5 separate regions of the Homo sapiens genome follow, and regions 2, 3, 4 and 5 are each linked to region 1. Evidence: promoter capture Hi-C in 16 types of primary human blood cells and fetal thymus (Javierre and others, 2016). All regions are on one chromosome and are shown on one strand. The core of a region is centred on a gene start or on the middle of the fragment in contact, and the rest is flanking DNA. Distances in the headings are between cores, read along the strand shown. Region 1 holds the start of PRTFDC1 (phosphoribosyl transferase domain containing 1). Region 2 has its middle 150 kb from the start of ARHGAP21. Region 3 overlaps ARHGAP21 (Rho GTPase activating protein 21). Region 4 overlaps ARHGAP21 (Rho GTPase activating protein 21). Region 5 overlaps ARHGAP21 (Rho GTPase activating protein 21).

Region 1 (2,667 bases), core at 62-2,561:
CTCTATTTGTTTACACACTGCTTGCCTATGTCTTCTCTAGAACGCAAGCTCATGAAGACAAGGCCTTTGTCTTTTGCACCCCAGAGCCTACAGCACCTCCTACAACCCAGCAGGACAATAAACGTGTGGAATGAATAAATCAACTCCTCATCCTTTCAGAAGGAAAGGTCCTGCTGTTAAATTAAGCACTGAGCCCCACATTTCAACCTGACCCTTCTGTCTGAATGTGACACGTTTCCCTCCCCAGCCCACTTACTTTAGTTCAGGCCATTCATATTCATAAACAGATTATCTGTGAATGACAAGCTGATCCCTGGAAAGAGATGGCAAGTTAGCCCCACCCACCATCCTCACCACCATTGAGTTTCACACTGAACCTGACACAAGTTATAACCACCACCTTCTAGGAAAACCACTTCTCAGGGAGCAGGGAGGACGTGGCCACAAGGTCAAGAACGGGTTGGATCCTAGCACACTGAGAGATGGGTACCCTCTGGCTGACACCGTCAGGATTCTCAGGGTTAATGAGGCTCAGTTCTGGGAAACCAGCACCCCACACCCTCCCATCCGGACACACTGCTAGATATTTTACATGCATCCTCCCAATTGGCTCCAGAGCCCAGCTTGCTGTTGCTCCCTTTTACAGACAAGCCATAGGTCACTCAGGAGCCGCCAGCGTGTCCTAGAGCTCCTGCAGAGGCCTCCACTGCCAGAGAGCCCCCAACCTGGGTACCAAAGGCTTCAAATCTCAAGCTCTGTCCACTTGAGCTACTTTATTTCCTAGCTGCCTTCAAAACCCCTCAGTGTGCTTTTTAAAAACAAAACTTGAAGCCCGCCCTGGAGGAGTCAAGAGGAGACCCAGGAAGAAGGAGGCCTCCAGAGCAGCACGCGGGGGTCTCTGGGGCCCTGCCGGGCTCGCAGAAGCGACTCCCCGTGGCTCGCGGGGATGGGGACGGCTGGGCGCCGGCGGGACGCTGCAGGAGCGAGCTACCGGCCGGAGGACACGGGGGGACGCTGGGAACTCGGGGTGAAGGGACGGGACTCAGAGTTTCGTCAGATTGGGGGCGGGGAGAGGAGGCCCGGGTCCGAGGATGGAAGCGATCCCCGCCGGGAGGGAGAACAAAGCGGTGGCCCTCTCTCTCCCCCGACGCACGGCAAGCATTTAATCTACAAGCAGGGTGCCAGGGAGGGAGGGGAGCGGGCCGAGCCCCAAAATAGGGAGTTTGCATTTACCACGACGCCTCGCCCGTAGTCTGGCGCCTCCTCGCTGCTCCCGGCCATGTTTCTCCCGGGGAACGCGGGAAGGGAAGACGGCGCGGGAAGGAGCAGGGAGGGCGAAGGCTGCGTGGGGGATGGGACGTGGGGATGGGGACGGGGACGGGGACGGGGACGGGGACGGGGACGGGTCCGCCCCGCCCCGGGCCCGCCGGCGGGAAGCAGCGGCCTGACGCGGATCCATGGCCCCGGCGCTGCGCCCCCTCCCCTGGCTAGGCCGCGGGGGCGCGGGGAGCAGCTGCCAAGCCGCTACCGCTCCCCCTGAGCGCGGGCCCCGGACGCGTCCCTTGCGGCCGCCGCTGTCGCCGCCGCCCCCTGCCGGATGGTCGCGTGCAGCCCCCGGCCCCGCCGCCAAGCCCCGCGGGGACTCTGGAGCAGGAAGCCCGCGGCAGGAAGAGAACGTGTCCCCCAGGCCCCTGATTCCCAGATCCACCGTCCCAGCCCTCGGGCTAACAATCTCCTTGACTCCTCCCTGCCAGATTTCATGCACGCGATTGTCCCAAGCAGAAGCGTGAAAGAGCCTGTGAGCCAGCGTGCTCTTGGAGGATGGGAAGTGTCCTGGATGTGTTTTCAAACCTTGGAGCCGCCACCCACCTCTCTCCACCTCCGCTCATCTCCCTCCACCTCCCCTCACCTCCCTCCACCTCCCCTCACCTCCCTCCATCTTCCTCCACCTTTCTCCACCTTCCCCCACCTCCCTCATCCCAGGGCCTGGAGCTGGAAAGATTACACCCGATTGCTTTTAGGGTGGCCCGGATCTGCAGTGATCAGATCTGGGCTTTGAGGATCCAGCCTTTCGGCCTTTCGTCAACTGCATTCAGGGGAGGAGGGGGAGAGATTTTTACACATTCTCTGCTTTACCAGTTTTGCAAGAACATCTGGTCAGATTGTAATTGTTCCAGGTTGCAGCTTTACTAAAGCAATCGCTCTTTTCTGATTAGAAATCCTTCTTGTATGAGTCTGTTGTTCATTTCAACCCCTCTCACATGCCTATGCTCCGGTTCTTTGTCCACTCCTGTAGGTTCCTGCTTTTTCTGGGTGTGTCTTCATTCCCCAGGTCCCTGACATCTCACCAGCGTCTTCATTCACTCAGCCCAATTCGGGTCGAAGCCCTGAATCCAAGAGAACTTAACACAGTTTTCCTGATGCAGGCGTCTTTTGTTCATCTTCGAATTCTGGCACACAGAGGGGAGAGGAATGCTGATTTTGCCTAGTTTAAAGGGGAAATAGTTATCAATCGGTTAATGACGTTCTAGGTTGGAAAAATATTAGTCATTCAGACTTGGCGCCCTGGTCCTGCTCAGCAGGGCTGGCTCTTCATGTCGTTTCTAAGCGCCAGCGCCTTGGAGGGTGCAGCTCCAGAGATCCCTGAAATCAGGCATCTGCTTGGCA
Region 2 (2,667 bases), core at 112-2,611, 380 kb before region 1:
GGGGGGATCTGATCTAGGTGGAGATCTCAGATTTTCCTTTCCTAAAATTGTCCTGAGCTAACCTTGGACAAATGGCTGAATCTCTCTGTGCCTGAGTTTCTTCATCATAAGACAGGGATATTATACTTCTGTATCATCCAGGGCTAGGTTCAGCTGCACATGACAGAAAACCCGAAGTAATACTGGTTGAAACGAGAGAAGTTGATTTCTCATATCCAAGCAGCCCAGAGGTAGGCGGCCCACAGTGTCATCTATTTGGGATCCACTGTGCAAGGCTCTCGTTTAGAGATTCCTGCGTGTTTCAAGGGGATGTGGAAGCCGGGCTGTGTCCAGTCTGTGGTAAGAGGAAAGCATATAGAAGCCCATGCCCCCTGCGTGTGCACGCAGTGGCTAGAGTTTGCGTTAAACCACTTCATCTAGTCCCGTGGCCACACCTAGCTGTGAAGGAGGCTGAGAAGTGTGGTCTCTAAGAAGCAGTACTGGGAAATAACCGGGACTCTGCGTCACAATCTGTTTACTGCACAGTTGTGAGACCTGTGTATTGATGCATATCAAATACTTGGGACAGGACCTGGCACACAGTATGTGCTCAGTGAATGCTGGCTGTTATACACGAAGTGGTGGAGGCAGGGAATTTGGCAGTACGGAAATGCGTATGTCCAAAGGAGAACTGCTTCTCAATTGTCCTTTCCTATTCTTTCTTATCCCAGATGAATTGCTGGGATTGGGTAGAGACGTAGAGTCAGTTGGGTAGAATGTATTGGCACTGGCTGGAGAGGCCAAAGGGTTGTTGTATTTCTAATTCAAGGACATCTCATTCATGCCAGGAGTGAGGGTAGTAATTTGGGGTTTACAGCAGTGATTGCAGTACTGTTGTGCAGCGGGTCCAGGCAGGTAGGGGAGGCAGCCTGGTGGGGCTGAGAAAACTGGGGAGCACACATGCACTCTCTAAGGGGTGACTGCAACCTGCCACTACCCTGTAGGGGGACTAGCGCTGCTAGACCTTCCAGTTCTTAAAAAGTCTGGATTTTTATGTGATATCTTTTTGTTCGCCTTGAACACTGTCTTATTATGGCCACAGGCAAGCAATCAGTTCAGTAAGACCACATGAGATGAAAATAATTAGGTGAGGGACAGGCTGGAAAAAGCTATCAGGAGCTGCAGCTGGAGGGCATGATCATGACAAATTCTGGGACAAGGTTACATAAGAAAGGACATCAGGGGTGGAGCTTCAGTTTTCAGCCCCTTCTCAGCTGGGTAAGAAACCCAAGGAAGGAAGAAATGCTAAAGCTACAGTTTTATGACTTTTGTTTGCATGATTTCTGCTCAAATAGGCTGGAGGAATGGGATGATGACTATATTCTAACAATTAAAATGCTGTCAATACTAGAACTGTAATACCACACTCCTTTAAACAAGAAAAAGCCACATTTCTGTTTTTGTGGTTGACTACATGATTTAAGTTTTTGTTCTGTTTTCTCCAACCCCTCCATGAGAAATCTCCAAGCATAAGATTATTTTGCTCATTTCTTGAGGATAAATCTGTTTGAATGATGTTTTCTCAGGGCAGGGATGGGAAGTGTCTGCTAATCAATAATGAACCCCCGGGAACCAAGAGGGTCTGTCAACAAAGCTCTAGCTCCCCTCGTTACCCCACGGCTCAAGCATCCTGTGGGGCCACAGGTAGCTTTGCAGAAGAGGTCACGCCAATGGAAAGGGAATAATTGGATATTTCTCCTTCTAAGAATTCATGAGAAGGAAAAAATGTGGAATGTTGTAAGAAAGTCAACATGGCCTAAGGGAAACTTTAATAGGCTTTTCAAGTCAGTCACGTGAGCCAAAACGGAGAGAGAATGATAAAGATGCAAGGCTCTCTGGCTGCTCAAAACATGAAATAAAGGAGACTTTTTTTTGGCGGGGGGGTGTCCACAGTATAGTCTAAAAATGTCAAGGCTTATTGCGCAGGTTAACGGTTTTTGATTTCTTGGTATCTGAGGTTAGCCACAGGGGAGTGTATTATTATAAAGTCACCTGGCTTCACGGTGGCTCTTGGTGGTTTTACTTACCGATAGACTTTTATTCTCAGATTCTTAAGATAAGGAATCCTCTAAGAAAACCTTCCTGAGACTCCTGAGTCTGAGCTACTAGGAATCTTACGCTGTCTTCCAAAGTCACTGTGTAAATGTGCATTTATCAATATGGTTTATGATTTCTCCTGCCCATTAGTCTTTAAAAAGCACTCGTTGGGTATTCTCAAAGATTAAAAAAAAGATGAAGTATCATTTGGGTATACTGAACTATGTACACCATGACAAACATTTATTTTTCTGGCTCAAAGATAATGATAAAATAAGTTTGCTACCCTGATTTGTATAAACTGTGAACACATGCTTTACCATATGAGAAAGCAGATCACCATAGGCACGAGTCAGTAGAAATATCAAAGAATCAAACCTGCTAAAACTGAAGGTATGATAGCTATTGGATCCAGATATAAAATAACAGAAAACACAATAACCGAGACAAGGATTATTATTTCTCTCATTTTACATATGAGGAAAACTAATATGTAAGTTGGGTAGCCTGTCCAAACACATCCACTTTGTAAATGGTAAGGTCTAGATTTGAAGTCAGGCAGTTTGGTCCTATAATTCTTATAAGATTTGT
Region 3 (2,667 bases), core at 110-2,609, 360 kb before region 1:
AGGGACATCACAGAATCCACTAGTGACATTACCGTGTGATAGACTCCTCCCACTTCGCCTGTTCAACATCAGTATAGATTTGCCTGTGTCAGTAAGAGCTGAAAAAACCCTTTAGGACTAAAACAAGAACTAGAGACAAAGGGAGAACATTGTGTAAAACAACATGCTAGATTAGTGCAACAGTTTGGCAGGAGAAAGTTTTCATCAAAAGAGCCTAGAAGAACTAATACTTAACCAAGCATTAGGGTGGCAACAGGAAACAGAAGAAAATAAATGTCAAATAGGCTGGCTTTTTACTGTGACAAATAATACACTGTATTTATGAAAATGTATTTATGAAAATGGTGCCCATTACCAGTTCAACAGATTTAACTTGCTGCTTTTAAACAGAACTCCTGGCTCAAGAATAAGAACTACTTATACAGCCCAGATCATACTTTCTGCCATCACAGCAACCACATACTCAGTAGCATATATCTGTTTTACCTTGTGATGACTATTACATGGAAACTGTGAATTAAAAAAAAAAAAAAAAAAAAGAACAAAACAGTGGTTTGCATGCTCATTTCCCTCATAGTTCCATTCTGACAAACATTACAACTGCATGCACTGCCAATGGCATTAGAGTCACTGGAAGATAATTCAGATCAATTGGAAAAGGAAGATTAAGGTTTTTTATTAGTAGAAAGGAAGAGAAAAAGAAAAAAATCATAAGTAACAATTCACTATGATTGATTTGCTCTTTCATATTGTAAGAATGTAGCTTTCAGCCTAGAGGTCAAGACTGCCCAGGCAAGAGTTACCTGATACATCTCCTGGGGAGACTCCTGTCCTTCCAATGTTGGTGAGTAAATGATCTATGTTTGGCACTGGCTGGGAGTCTACTGTGCTTTCCTCCTGCACTGTTGTCTATGGTTAATAAACAAAGATCTCTTCATCATCTCTTCAAAGATACTTTCTTTAAAATTTAAACAACATTTAGTAAAAGACACATTACTAAGTAAAGCACCTGTGCTTAATGTGTTTACATTGTTTACGCATAATTAACTGCAAAATAAGCACCGTACTTGTATATTCATTAGATCAGAAACTGAGCTAGAGACCTGCTTCCGGGGCGCAAAGCGGACAATAGCAAAGCAGGAAGTTGACATTGTTGGCGCGCCAGGATCTTGTGTCCCAAATGAAACTACTGAGTACAAATGCTGACAGACAATACTTACAAGAGGCTCTTCAGCACCTTCTTCTGTGAAAAACCAGTCATGCTAAAATTTAAAAAAGGTGAGAAGAGAAATTAAACAAGCCTTTAAATATACTGAGATCTTGGAGGATAGTATAGAAAAAGGGTAATTTTCTTAGGGAAAGATATTACAACCAACCTCTGTCTGACCAAATAGCGGCTGCCCGTGAAAATGAATTTTCTTGCAGAGATGAAGCATGAACTTACAGAGATGAAGCATGAACTTACGTGCTGGATGAGCGTTTCTACAATCTTGTACTGGTCAGGCATGTGGGTGACCATGTGGGTCATGTTGTCTTCTGATGTTCGAACAAGGGTGGGACCAAACACTATTGCTAGGTTTCTTGGTTCCATCTGAAAGAAAGGATGATACTGGGAAATACCAGAATTTTTCTTAAGGAAGTAGGCTGAAATTGCCATTGTAGGATTTTTGATGAAAAAGAATAAACAGAAAAATAGCTTTGATGTAGATTAAAAAAATAATGCTTTCTAGCAAGATTTTTTTTTTTTTTTTTTTTTTTTTCTGAGACAGGGTCTCACGTTCACCCAGGCTGCAGTGCAGTGGCATGATCACAGCTTACTGCACTCTCGATAGAATCTTATTATGTTGCCAAGGCAGGTCTCGAAATCGTGGACTCAAGCAGTTCTCCAGCCTCAAGTGTCAGCCACCACAAGTGGCCTAGTTAGGATTTTCAAAGCAAATGTGTACAAAACGTTTTTTCTGCATTAATGATAATGTGCAATGCATAATTAGCATTCATTTTTTTCCAAGAAGACTTTGATTGAAAACAACTGATTTGGTTCAAAACGAGGGTTACCAAAGCTGGATTAACTGATAAAAATGTTAAAATCAAAGGAAAAAAAAACTTGCAGAAGATTACAGGCACACCTGTAGTCCCAGCACTTTGGGGGACCGAGTCAGGTGGACTGCTTGAGCCCAGGAGTTCAAGACCTCATCTCTACTAAAAATAAATTAGTCAGGCACGATGGTGTGTGCATGCAGTCCCAGCTACTCCGGAGGCTGAGGTGGGAGGAGGTCGAGGTTGCAGCCTGGGCGACAGAGTAAGATCCTGTTTGAAGAAAAAAAGAAAAAAAAAACAAAAAACTCCCTCCCCTTCAGAAATGAAAAGTGGAAGAAGTGCTGAAAAATACATGAAAGGTTATAGATTTTTCCCTCTAGTACATCAAAATCACTAATGTGTAAACACCCAGTGTCTGGAAATATTATTTCTGACCAATTTTTACTTGAAACCAATCTTCTGAAGCTACATTAATTTCCATATTTGGTATTCCTTGTATAATAATTATCAGATTGTCAAAGGTATGGATCTTTTGTTTTCCTTCATTAAATCTTATAGTATCTGATATATTTTGAATTCAGTATTTGATTAAAATAACTTTAATCAACCCTAATAACATCCCAGGGGGGT
Region 4 (2,667 bases), core at 82-2,581, 300 kb before region 1:
ATAAATATTTTGAAATTAACTTGTTACTAGCTACATATAGAATCACTTTTATTACCTTTGTGTGTGCTTATGTATGCATATGTGTACATGTGTATATATGTATATAAGTGAGTTTATACAGTTTACATGAGGAAATATTACCCATAATAGCAAACTACAGATAACTTGGTAATTTTATTATAACTACATCTTAATAGGACAAATACATGGGTAGCAAATTATCTAATGACTTATCCATGTACTAGCTAACTGGGCTAATATAGAGAGATGGGTAATTTATATCTGAACCATAGTGTATATACATGTAAAACCTAGCTGCTAGAAAATTATATCCTAAAATATTATTGATACCAGTGAAACAATATATGCCCAGGCCACTGAACATGAGCATCCACTTTAAGGACTTTTCTACCCAGCAAATAGAAGAAAAAGCCCAAGTCCAGTTAGGAATCTCTATCAGGAGACTCTCCCGCACTTAAGAGGAAGGGTAACTACAAATAATGCCCCCACCAACCCAGAGGCTACTTTGGAGCTGAACAAAGTAGGAAAAAGAAAAAAAGGAAGGGGAAAGATAACTCTAAGAAGTGGCCATGGGCTAAACTGCACATGGACATGGATTTTTAGGCTAACTCAGGTAACAGCCTGTCCCTGGACAAAAGCAAACACCAATCAACTTGGAGAAGAGATTTTTTGTCTTAGATCTCAAAGAATCCCCAAGTAATAATTTTTGAAGGTCATAAAACACAAAGCAGTTAAAAAAAAAAAACCATGGAAAACAACAATATTCTAAGCTAAAGCTTAGAAAACAAACCAGAGAAAACAAACAAGAGAAACAGATTCAAAAACTTCTGATAAAGGAATCACCAGGCACAGATTATAAAAAAATTCCGCTTACCATGTCTGAAGAAATAAAAAGATAAAACTAAAAGTAGTCCAGGTGAAGAAACTATAAGAAGTGATCAAGCATATTTGCTGCAGTACCCTAAAAAACTTCTCATAATCAAACTTTAAAACTTAACTAAAAAGAAATTTACTGAACATATATTGGAAGAAATTAACTAGAATGCAGACCAGAAAGACAAAAAAGAAGAAGAAAAAGAAAAACTAGAGAATTTAGTAGCCATGGGAGATGGAGTAAGAATGAAATAATATCTTCAATATTACTGAATAATTGTGTACCCAGCAAAAATACCTTCCAAAAATAAGGGCAGAACACAGATATTTCACAGAAAAAAGGAGAGAGAATTACATCACATATAAGTAACATGTTGGAGCCAGGCGCAGTGGCTCATGCCTATAATCCCAACTACTCAGGAGGCTGAGGCTCTGAGTAGTGCCTGAGGGGGACTGCCTGAGGCCAGGAGTTCAAGATCAGCATGGGTAACACAGTGAGACCCCATCTCTTTAAAAAACAACAAAAAAAGCAACATGTAGATAGGAAGGAGATAATGGAGTTAAAATGTTCTAAGGTCCTTATATTTTGTAAGAGTAGAACAGAATTTTAAGTAGCATCAGACTTCGATGTGCTTGCATATTGTTTCTAGGATAACCACTGAAAGAAGGGTAATAATGTTCTTTAACCTTTCAAGTAGAAAGTATAAAAGAAAAATTATTTTTTAATCTCAGAAAAGAGAAAAATATAAGAATGAACCAAGAGAAAGTTCAAAATAAAAGATTAAACAATAAATACATAATTAATTACATTAAATACATACGTGAAAATTTCTAAATCTACCTACAGTGAACTAGCTGGTTACAGAATCAACTCTTCCACCCATGAATAATAGCCAGAAAAGCTAGACGATGTATAACCACATTTGTGTGAAGGCACCAGAAAGCTACCAAGGCAGAGATGGCTTAATGGGACAAGCTTCCAAATAGATGGAAATCCAGAGAGGTGAGTCCAGTGCTTTGCACAACTGTTCACCTTGAGGCGTTTCCTGTTTCCAAAGTAATGGCTGAGAGACTGACCAGCTGCACAGAGCTTCCATCAATCTCAAAAGGCTGAGGAGACAAAAAAAAAAAGGAACTTCAGGGCCAGCCAAGGAAAAGAGCTCTAGAAAACACCATGTTTTCACTTGGGGTCCCCAAAAGAATACAACCTGTGAGCAGGGATGAAAAGAAAAAGGCCAACCATGTCAAGCATGGAGGTGGGCTGTTCCTCTGCACACCTCCTTCTGAAGAACTTGCCGAGGGGAAGACTGTGACTGACAGCCCCAGCTGCCGCCCTTTGGATCCATCACCATGTTCACACAGAGGCCACATTTCCCCATTCCTGCCCAAAGCAGGATTCTTCTAAAAGACAAGTGTTTGCCTGGGGACTCTTCACTGGCCTAGCAGAGGCATTCTTAGATCTGTGCTGCAGGCTGGGGCCCTTCCTACCAATTCTTTCCTTTCCTCTCTTCTTTCACAGGGGTCAGGCCTGTCTCATGGTCTCAGGTTTTCCCCTGTCCTCTCTTGCTTTCTTCTTTATCCTTTACAAGCATTGCCCCCAATAAGCCTTCTGCATATCTCATCCTGGTTTAGTTTATGCTTCCATCTTGATGTCTGCTACTCAACACCAATTATCAGATCAAGGCCTGACTTTAGGTGAAGGCAATCCTTGAGCAGAGATGCAAAAATTCTAAATAAAACAGAAAACCAAATCTGGTGATATATAAAAAGCAT
Region 5 (2,667 bases), core at 76-2,575, 260 kb before region 1:
GGGTCTCTATGTATCAGCTAGGGTGAAGGCAGTCTCATATCAGACGTGAATCACCCATTTACTCATTAGTTCTCAGTGAAGGTTGACTGTCATAGTCTGCTATTTCCAGGAGAGCAAGGGCATCCTGACACAGGAGTTAAGCTCCGTCCTAAAAGAACCCATGCCCCATGAATAGGAAGAAAGATGGAAGCTTAAAGGGAGTAGCATCAAATATACCTAGAATTACTCAATCTCAGAGATGGGGTTTCCTTTTTCTTTCCCTTCCTCCCACTCCAAATCTCTGAGACCTTTTGCTGAAAGATAGCTTAGAACAGAAATTCAATATACAAATATTGAATACTGTATACAGAGCTGCTCTGCTTGGGAGAGAGGCAAGGGCGTTTGTACAGAAACCTACTCTACTAATTCCTTGGAAACACTAACAGTCTGATAGAGACTTTTAAAATCATAGATCTAGTTGAGCCAATTTATTTTACAAATACAGACACTGAGTCCCTGAAAGACTCACTGGTGGCCTCATAGCTAATTAGTGACACAGCTTGGACTAGAACCTCAGTTTCCAATCTTCTGATCTTGGAACTTTTCCACCATACCACTAACAAATTGTTTTAACAATCTGAAGATAATAGCTATTGGCTAATGTATCATTTTTTTTCTAATTTATATTTATGAAAACATAATGTATGTTCACTTAGGATACACCAGAAAATAAATCTAAGCAAAAAGGAAATAATTTAACTTACCTGTCATTCCCCGTCTAGAGAAAATTATGTCAATACTTCGAGACATATACATATTCTTCCAGACTTTTTCATACATAAATATACACTGGCTGGAAGTGGTGGCTCACACCTATAATTCCAACACTTTGGGAGGCCAAGGTGGGCGGATCGCCAGAGCCCAGGAATTCAAGACCAGCCTGGGCAATATGGCAAAACCCCATCTCTACAAAAAATACAAAAAATTAGCCCAGCATGGTGGCACGTGCCTGTAGTCTCAGCTACCCGGGAGGCTGAGGTAGAAGGATCATCTGAGCCCGGAAGGTTGAGGCTGCAGTGAGCCGTGATCACGCCACTGCACTCCAGCCTGGACATCAGGGTCAAGGTCTCTTGTCTCAAAAATAATTATATCTATATGTATGTATATATGTGTGTGTATATATATGTATATATGTATATGTATGTGTATATATATGTATATATGTATGTGTATATATATGTATATATGTATATGTATGTGTATATATACATGTATATATGTATATGTATGTGTATATATACATGTATATATGTATATGTATGTATATGTATATATGTATATGTGTGTGTGTGTGTGTGTATATACACATACACACAAAAAATACATACTTTAGGAAAATCTTCTAACCTATTTCTTTTTATTCAATATTTTATGTAAGTCTTTCCATATCAATTACATATACCTACATCATTATTTTTAAAGACTACATGGTATTTCATTACATAAATAACATTTTATTTGTTCACTCTTCTCTTTGTTCATTATCTTTTTTACACTACATTACTACTACTATTATTATAACTACAACTGCCTTGTAGACCAGTGTCTATGAAAAACCATTGAGAATTACATTAGGATAAATTCCTAAGAATGGAGCTGCTGGCTCAAATGTTTACTTTTTGTTTGTTTTTAGTTTTAGACACAATATTTTAAAGTGCCATCCAGAAAAGCAGGGAACCAAATCCACTGACAGCATGAGATTCCTATATCCATATTCCAGCCAACACTGAGTATTTTTTTCATCTTTGCAAATATGTTAAAGATGAAAATGGTTCTTAATGTTTTAATTTTTTTATTCTTTCATTACTAGTGAGGCTAGACATCTTGGCATATAACATGCTATTCTAAGTGCCCCATAATATAAATAACATAGAAAAACAGGATGGGCGTGGTGGCTCACTCTTGTAATCCCAGCACTTTGGGAGGCCAAGACAGGCACATCACCTGAGGTGGCGAGTTCGAGACCATCCTGATCAACATGGTGAAACCCTGTCTCTACTAAAAATACAAAAATTAGCAGGTGTGGTAGCATGTGCCTGTAGTTCCAGCTACTCAGGACGCTGAGGCAAAAGAATCGCTTGAACCCAGGAGGTGGAGGTTGCAGTGAGCCGAGATCGCGCCACTGCACTCCAGCCTGAGTGACAGAGGGAGACTCCATCTCAAAAAAAAAAATATATATATATATATACACATATATATATACACACACACACATAAACACACACATACACACACACACATATAAAACATAGAAAGGCAGATACAATATAGTCTCCAGCGTCTTTAAGATTAAATTAGAAAAGTACATGGTGTCATTGGTGTTCAGAACACAGCTCTCATATAAAATTACAAATTGGGGTTAACAGGAATGTCTTAAAATATAGTAGCAGAACTCAAAGCAAAATCCCTGGGAACTGGAAAGGAAGCTTAAAATACACAGAAACTGAGAGGTCATCAGCTGGGGTAGCAGACCCCTTAGAGACAAGATAACAAGCCTTTCAGGGTAAGAGGATCAAGCTGTCTTACATTCTGATTAGTGTGAGCACTGGTATGTACCCTAACTTTAGGCGGAAACATCAGAGTTGGTCCAGCTTTGAGTTGTTGGGTCCAGCAAAGGCAAACGGCATG

Evidence for each region. Contacts are between HindIII fragments. The CHiCAGO score rates a contact against its expected background, and 5 or more counts as called.
Region 2: a fragment that was not itself captured here is called in contact with the fragment with the promoter of PRTFDC1 in region 1 in 1 of 17 cell types (total CD4 T cells); the score reaches 5.2 in total CD4 T cells.
Region 3: a fragment that was not itself captured here is called in contact with the fragment with the promoter of PRTFDC1 in region 1 in 2 of 17 cell types (total CD4 T cells and naive CD8 T cells); the score reaches 6.3 in total CD4 T cells.
Region 4: a contact is called between a fragment that was not itself captured here and the fragment with the promoter of PRTFDC1 in region 1, in 13 of 17 cell types (non-activated CD4 T cells, total CD4 T cells, naive CD4 T cells and 10 more). The highest score is 14.2, in non-activated CD4 T cells.
Region 5: a fragment that was not itself captured here is called in contact with the fragment with the promoter of PRTFDC1 in region 1 in 12 of 17 cell types (non-activated CD4 T cells, total CD4 T cells, naive CD8 T cells and 9 more); the score reaches 10.4 in non-activated CD4 T cells.

The regions. Positions count from the first base shown.
Region 1 is chr10:24,951,295-24,953,961 of GRCh38, forward strand. PRTFDC1 (phosphoribosyl transferase domain containing 1) reads right to left here and starts at 1,312. Exons shown (of 9, transcript NM_020200.7): 1 at 1,234-1,312. The coding sequence starts at 1,281. It also overlaps a transcript of THNSL1 not described here. RefSeq lists a silencer at 1,473-1,662. The HindIII fragment of the contact is 20,553 bases long and covers 1-2,667 here.
Region 2 is chr10:24,573,830-24,576,496 of GRCh38, forward strand. No RefSeq gene overlaps it. Among named protein-coding and RNA genes, the nearest start is that of ARHGAP21, 150 kb to the right of the region's middle. The HindIII fragment of the contact is 9,489 bases long and covers 1-2,667 here.
Region 3 is chr10:24,590,422-24,593,088 of GRCh38, forward strand. ARHGAP21 (Rho GTPase activating protein 21) reads right to left here. Exons shown (of 26, transcript NM_020824.4): 22 at 1,466-1,591; 23 at 1,221-1,262; 24 at 804-909. Among named protein-coding and RNA genes, the nearest start is that of ARHGAP21, 130 kb to the right of the region's middle. The HindIII fragment of the contact is 4,332 bases long and covers 1-2,667 here.
Region 4 is chr10:24,648,952-24,651,618 of GRCh38, forward strand. The region is part of intron 4 of ARHGAP21 (Rho GTPase activating protein 21); the gene reads right to left. Among named protein-coding and RNA genes, the nearest start is that of ARHGAP21, 74 kb to the right of the region's middle. The HindIII fragment of the contact is 1,073 bases long and covers 796-1,868 here.
Region 5 is chr10:24,688,628-24,691,294 of GRCh38, forward strand. All of the region lies in intron 2 of ARHGAP21 (Rho GTPase activating protein 21), which reads right to left. Among named protein-coding and RNA genes, the nearest start is that of ARHGAP21, 34 kb to the right of the region's middle. The HindIII fragment of the contact is 2,275 bases long and covers 189-2,463 here.